Linked DNA regions of Homo sapiens: region 1 is linked to region 2. The links are contacts of gene promoters, found by promoter capture Hi-C in human tissues and cell types (Jung and others, 2019). All regions are on one chromosome and are shown on one strand. Each heading gives the region's core, a stretch centred on a gene start or on the middle of the fragment in contact. The rest is flanking DNA. Distances are from core to core; before and after follow the strand shown.

Region 1 (2,976 bases), core at 277-2,776, 160 kb before region 2:
TGAGCCGAGATAGTGCCGCTGCACTCTAGCCTAGGCAACAGGAGCGAAACTCTGTCTTAAAAAAAAAAAAAAAAAAATACATCGCTGGAAGACTGGAAGAGTGGATTCACCTCCACACATGGACTCACATGGGCCTCGACTTGGACTATGCACACTTCACCCAGGCCAGCTCATTCCTGTCCTGCCACTGCAGTGAGGGCACTCCCCCTTCTAGGTCACCAAAGGCTTCCAGGTCAGGCTGCCTCTTGACGGGTCACTCATGGCTGCCTAGAAGGGACAGTCACAGCTCCCCCATGGCTTCCCCTCTGTACTTCCTGCCCAGGCAGGATCAGATGCCCCTCTGTGCCCTGCAACAAACGTCCCGGGTGTCACCACTCTTGGCCCACCAGGAGATGGCCAAAGGCTCACCCCAGAGGGCCTCACTCAGGGACAGGAACTCACAGATATCTGTCAACCCTGAGCCACCATGAGATTGGACCCCTGGCCTTCCCAACACCACTAAAGGCTGCATGTCTAGAGGGACGTTAGAAATATACAAAATAAACAGAACCAACGCATATCTGGTCACACATATTTCTTGAGCACCTACTGTATGCCATACACTGATCTGTGTGCTAGGGATGGGTGGTGGACACAGGCCAAGCCCCTGCCTGCGTGGCACTTCCATGTGAGTGGGAGGAAGTAGGAAAAGAGACAAATCAAGAAAACAGGAGATAATGAGGACATCAGGCAGAAACGCACATCACAGCGATGGGCTAGAGAGACACGGCAGTCAGACTGAGCGGGCAGAGAAGAGTTCTCCCAGGAGACGACCTGGAACCGGAGATGTGACAGGAAGACACAGACGGGGGACTTGATGGACCCAGTGCGGCCCAGCATGGTAGGGGGAGTGGGAGTGTGGGCCAGGTCAGCATGGCCGGCAGGAGCCAATCTTCTCTGTGATGGGAAGGGTGCACTGGCCACAGGCCCCTGCCGCTGCCTGACCCTCCTGGAGGCAGGGACAGGAAAAGGGAAGAACGGGATTCTGGGTGGAGTGGCCCACCAGGGGATGGTAGCAGGCAGGCACGCGGTGCCAGGGCCAGGACCAGGGTTCTCTCCAAACGTGCTGAGCAGCAGCTGCTGAGGGGCCAGCCCAGCCCTGGCTGACCAGACTCACAGGACTTGGGCAACTACCCTTGCCTAGATGGGTCTCAAGAACTGTGATGTTTACCAGCACCAAACTGGCCTTTCATCTGAAAGAACACGCAGAATGCCAGGGAAAGAAATTTTGATGACTTTCCTCATGTAAAAAGGGCTATGATGCCACCTGGAGTGGCAGCTTCTCTTACTGCATCTTCTGGTGCAGGGACAGTGGGGTCTGAAGGAGATGGCCATCCCCTCTCCCGGAACCCCATGCCTCCCTCACCCAAGCACGCAGCCAGCATAGCCCTGAGCTGGCGACCCTACCCCTGCTGCCCAGGGAGAGAGCGACTTCCATCAGAGATGAAGACAGCAGTGAAGAGAGTGACCAAGAGCCAAGGGTGCTGGGGAAAGCTGGGCAAGGAGGGGGCTGCCCCGTCCCTCCCAGCCACACGCTCACGTGCAGAGAGATGCATATTGTACTCCAGAGCCCCTTGAGCAGGCACCCCAACGACACCGCAGCCCACAACCTGTATCATGAGCTCAGAGGCCTCTTATAGACAGGTCACCCATGGCACAGGGATTAGCTTGTGTTTACAAAAGAGTCTCCAAAAATGAGGCTGTGGGAGACACGACATCCTGCATCCCCATTCTGGGGGATCTAGCCAAAGCGGGGCCCAGCCTCCGTATCGTGTGTGTTTCTATTCCGGAATTCTAACAAGAAGATGAGGATGCAGGCAGAATCCTACCTTCCTGGGAATGCTCAGAGCTTCAACACAGTCTCACAAAGCTCAGTTCTATTACAGAATGTCACGCTCTAAAAGTCAAGGAAGCAGCTGTGGCTTACCAGAAAGTAACTGAGATGATTGGGAAAGCACGTGTCTCCTTCAAAGTTCGCGCAGAGGACAGTTGCCAACAGAACAGCTGCTCAGGTGCCCTTGGCTGGGGAGGAGAGCCCAGCGATTCCACAGCCCAAGCAAGCAGAAACCAGCCTTGCCTGTGCAGGACCATCGCTTGGCTTTAAGGCCTTAGGGAATTTTTTAAGATGCAAGAACAATAATAAAGGTAGTTCTCCGACTGGGCGCGGTGGCTCACGCCTGTAATCTGAGCACTCTGGGAGGCCCAGGCAGGTGGATCACCTGAGGTCAGGAGTTCGAGACCAGCCTGGCCAACATGGTGAAACCCTGTCTCTACTGAAAACACAAAAATTAGTCGGGCATGGTCACAGATGCCTGTAATCCCGGCTACTCCGGAGGCTGAGGCAGGAGAATCGCTTGAACCTGGAAGGCGGAGGTTGCAGTGAGCCAAGATCACGCCACTGCACCCCAGCCTGGGTGACAGAGCAAGACCCTGTCTCCAAAAAAAAAAAAAAAAAGAGGTAGTTTTCCTAAACATTTTTCAGAAACCTTCCAGGTAGAAGGAATAATCCACACCAAGGTAAGAGTCAGAAATCAGAAAAGCCAGGTGAAAGGCCAGGCCAGAAACCGCCCTCCTCCTTCCCACTCCTCCCAATGCAGACAAAGGAAGGCGAAGAGAAGAAAGGTGATGGCTGACTGAAATCCAGACTGCATCACAGGCTTCACCAGAAGCAAGTACAGCCCGGCTGTTTGCAAAAAGCCTAAGCGCTCCCCTCCCTCCAGCGTCACCTCCACGACCGCACTCAGGGCCTGGCTGCAGTTGGACCCACAGGTTGTGAGGACTCAAGAGCAGGATCTCTCCTCCTGCTATCATTTTATAAAATGCTGAAGGGAAAAATGAGCTCCGCAGAGCAACCCCGAGGGAGCCCTGGCACTGAAGCTGAGTCACTGCTTGGGGCACACCCAACACCTCCGTCCTGACGTAATTAGCAATTACACC
Region 2 (3,474 bases), core at 232-2,731:
AAGTGGTCGGCTGTATCAATGAGGTGATATATAAGCAGGGTATTGAACGAAGTGAGGAGCAAGAAGTTCCAGGCAGAGCAAATAGCACGCGCAAAGGCCTGAGGCTGGCATGGAGAGGCAATTCCTTACAATTTCATATGTAGTAAAAAGTAACAAAACCCAGAAAAACACCAACCTTAATACATCTCATTAAAGAACAATACAACCCAAACATTTAAATATGGTAAAATCTTGATAAGCAAAAGCTTTTTATTTTACTTCATTTTTACTTTTATAAAAGCTCCTAATGCAATGACGTGTGTCACCTCTCTGGGCTTCAGGGTGTTCACCTTTCAAAAGGCCTCGGTGCCTGTCTGTCCTGCTTCCTGGCTTGTGGTTAGCATCAAAATGACACCATAAAAATGAAAGTTGCAGCCTTGAGGGTTCTTCTGGTTTCATTTCCGACCACAAGGTTGCCAGAGTGACTTTTTTTTTTTTTTAAATAACACAAATCAGTTATCACTTCCTGCTTAAAGCCCTCCAAAGGTTCCCTGTTGCCTAAAGAATAAACTCCAGGCACCTAAGCAAGCCCCACGCAGCCGTCTGCATTTTTCAATCCCTCCAACCTCGCCTTTTGCTATTTCCCCCACCCCACCTACGGCACGTTCCGGTCATAACCAACTAGCTCCTCGCTGAAACTGGCTCACACCGCGGAAGCCCGGGTCGGTGTCGGGGCGAGCCTTCCCTCCTTTTCCTGGAGCCCGTCTCAGGTCTGTAGCCCTCGGGAGGGATTGCAGGGCTCGTTCCCTGCTGGCGTTCATTTAGGTAACCTGTCTACCTCCAGTGGACTTCTAAGTCCCTTTCATGATTTTTCATCTTCCAAAATCAAATAATGGCCCAGCCCAACTTAGCTATAATGCCATGAAAAGAATCTCTGAGCCTCAGTTTCCTTGTCTGCAAAAAGGGCCCAGGAACCGCTCGTTAGGGTCGGTGTGGTGCCTGGAGAGTGCACTGCAAGGCCCGGGGCCCGCAGCGGGTGCCCGACAGCGGGCGTCCAACTCTGGGGGCGGGGCCGCAGGGCCGCTCAGGAGGGAGGTTCTCCAGAGGGGACCCCTTCGGGATTTGGGGGCAGGGAAGGAGATGGGGAGGACTTTCCCGAAGTCCGTCTAATCCCGCTGGCGGAGAGCGAGGCAGGTGGGACCCCAGGATGTCCGCTCGGCGGGGCGACCCCGGCCACCCCCGAGACCAGGGCTTTCCTCGTCCGGCCGCCACGCCCGCGCGCAGCCTCGGGCCACCCCGAAACCCCGGCGCGGTCACTACAGGACAAATTACGCGAGCAGAGCCTAGCGGCGCGCTGGGCATGCGCGGGGGCGGCGCGCATGCCCAGTCCCCCCGAGAGGCGGGAACTCCGGACTGAGACCGGGTCGGGCGTGCGCTGCCGAGAGAGGACGCGCGCCTCAGCCGGCTGCCGCGCACGCGCGCGGGCCCGCGCCGACGCAGCACGGCCTCGAGGGCGCGAGCCCGCGCCGCCGCCGCCGCCGCCGGTCCCGGACCACTGTGAGCCCGCGGCGTGAGGCGTGGGAGGAAGCGCGGCTGCTGTCGCCCAGCGCCGCCCCGTCGTCGTCTGCCTTCGCTTCACGGCGCCGAGCCGCGGTCCGAGTGAGTGCGGGGCGCCGGGCGCGGGGCGCGGGTCGGGGGCTGGGCGGGCTCCTTCTGTGCAGCGGTCGTGGGCTGGGCCGCGGCCCTGAGGGCGGAGGGGCAGAGCGGGGCCGCCCAACCAGTCCCGGGGCGGATGCGGCGGAGACCGGCCCCTCCCGCGCCCCCGGCCCGGGTTCTGGGAGGAGGGGAGGCCGGTGGCCGTGAGGAGGTTGGGGGCCCTCGCGGAGGCCGAGAGGCTTAAGGAGGTCAGGGGGCGCGCTGGGAGGCGGGGGTTCGGGGCGCTGGGTGGTCGGGAGGCTTGGGGAAGACTGGGAGGCTGAGGGACGTGGGGAGGCCGGGAGCTCGAGGAGGTCGGGGGTTTTGGGGGCGCGCGGGGAGGCCAAGGGGTTCGGGGAAGACAGAAAGGCTGGGGGACGTGGGGAGTCCGGGAGACGTGAGGAGGAAGGGGGGGGCGGCTTTCGAAAAGGCCGGGCGCGCGGAGAGGCCGAGGGGCCTGAGGAAGACGAGGAGGCCGGGGCTCTGGGGGCGCGCAGGGCGGACAGAGGCGCGGGGAGGACGGGCCGGCCTCCGCCGGAGCGGACCCAATGCCTGAAAAACAAAAGGGGAGAGGCAGGAGGAGGAAGAGGGAAATCGCAGGGACGTCGGCAGGGTTCGCCCGGACGCGAGAGGGAGGCTCGCGACGGCCCGACCTCCGTCCCCCGGGCGCGGCCTCGCGGGCAGCCAAGGGTGGGCTCCGAGCGGCCTGCCGGTGCCCGAGCCCCAAGCCCGCCGTGTCCCCGAACGCAAACCCTCAAGTTTGGTAGAGCCCCGTGGGCTTCTTGGCGGGAGCCCTGGAGCCCTCACTGAAGTCCTCACTGGAGTCATTGTGCTTCCCAAGTTTTCTCCTCTTCCCCGCCCCCAGCCCCCGACTCTGCCGCGGTGGCTTAGGCGCAACTGTTTGCCGAATTTCTCTCTGGGTTCCTTGTGTAGCGGCATCCTGTTCTTTCTTAGAAGAAGGGGTGTGTGTGTGTGTGTGTGTGTGTGTGTGTGTGTGTGTGAATTGGTTTCATTTAATTGCAGAATTTTGTAGCTAAATTCAGTGAGGGTAAAGTTTCTTTTTTTTTTTTTTTCCGAGTCATTTCAACAGTGTCTCATTCTTGCATAGTTAGCCTGCAGCTGGGTTTTTGGCAATGAGACTAAGATAATAGTAATATTGTAGTAATTATGGGAACTGGTTATACATTCAAGCTGAAAGCTGAAGGCAGTGCAAGAGTTTGGGGATTTGTATTTAAGACTTAACCATCGCTAGGATTTTTACTTAGAATGTAAACGTTTTCATGGCTGGAAAAACAGACCAGTACTATTTGAAATGAAATACCAGAGCCTCAACCTTAATATTTTATTTGGGAAACGGGTAATGAAAATGATGTCTTCGAGAGTTGAGCACTCCGTCCCATATTTGAAAACTTATGAGCAGTGCGATGCAAGCACACGGATGAACTAGTTACAAGACACATAAAAGTAAACTAGCATTCAACGTATTTTTGTTGGGGTACAGTATAGATAATATTTTCATCCAGTTATACTAGCCAATTAATTAGAAAAGCCCTATGATATTCAAACAAGGAACATTTTAAGGATGTTTGTGTCCCAATATCTTTGTGTTTTGTATTTGTGGTTATCCTTGGTGGGGAAAAACAGGCTGAACCTACCATCATTTTGAACCTTCTTGTTTATTAAACTGCAGAAACAACAAGATCAATATTACAAGGTTTTCCTTTAAAGAATTTCAGGTCACTATCAAATAATCTAGTTTAATAATGAACACAGGCACAGATTATTTAAAACACATGCTTC

What was found. The method cuts DNA at HindIII sites, captures the fragments that hold promoters and counts their contacts. A contact is called where the count stands out against the background at its distance.
Region 1: a contact is called between a fragment that was not itself captured here and the fragment with the promoter of PTK2 in region 2, in 1 of the 25 tissues and cell types used here (heart right ventricle).

The regions. Positions count from the first base shown.
Region 1 is chr8:141,157,278-141,160,253 of GRCh38, reverse strand. The region is part of intron 8 of DENND3 (DENN domain containing 3); the gene reads right to left. Among named protein-coding and RNA genes, the nearest start is that of DENND3-AS1, 29 kb to the right of the region's middle. RefSeq lists enhancers at 1,569-1,688, 2,479-2,976. The HindIII fragment of the contact is 8,395 bases long and covers 1-2,976 here.
Region 2 is chr8:140,999,289-141,002,762 of GRCh38, reverse strand. It overlaps PTK2 (protein tyrosine kinase 2), which reads left to right and starts at 1,481. Exons shown (of 36, transcript NM_001352702.2): 1 at 1,481-1,638. RefSeq lists silencers at 1,047-1,466, 1,487-1,816. The HindIII fragment of the contact is 8,254 bases long and covers 7-3,474 here.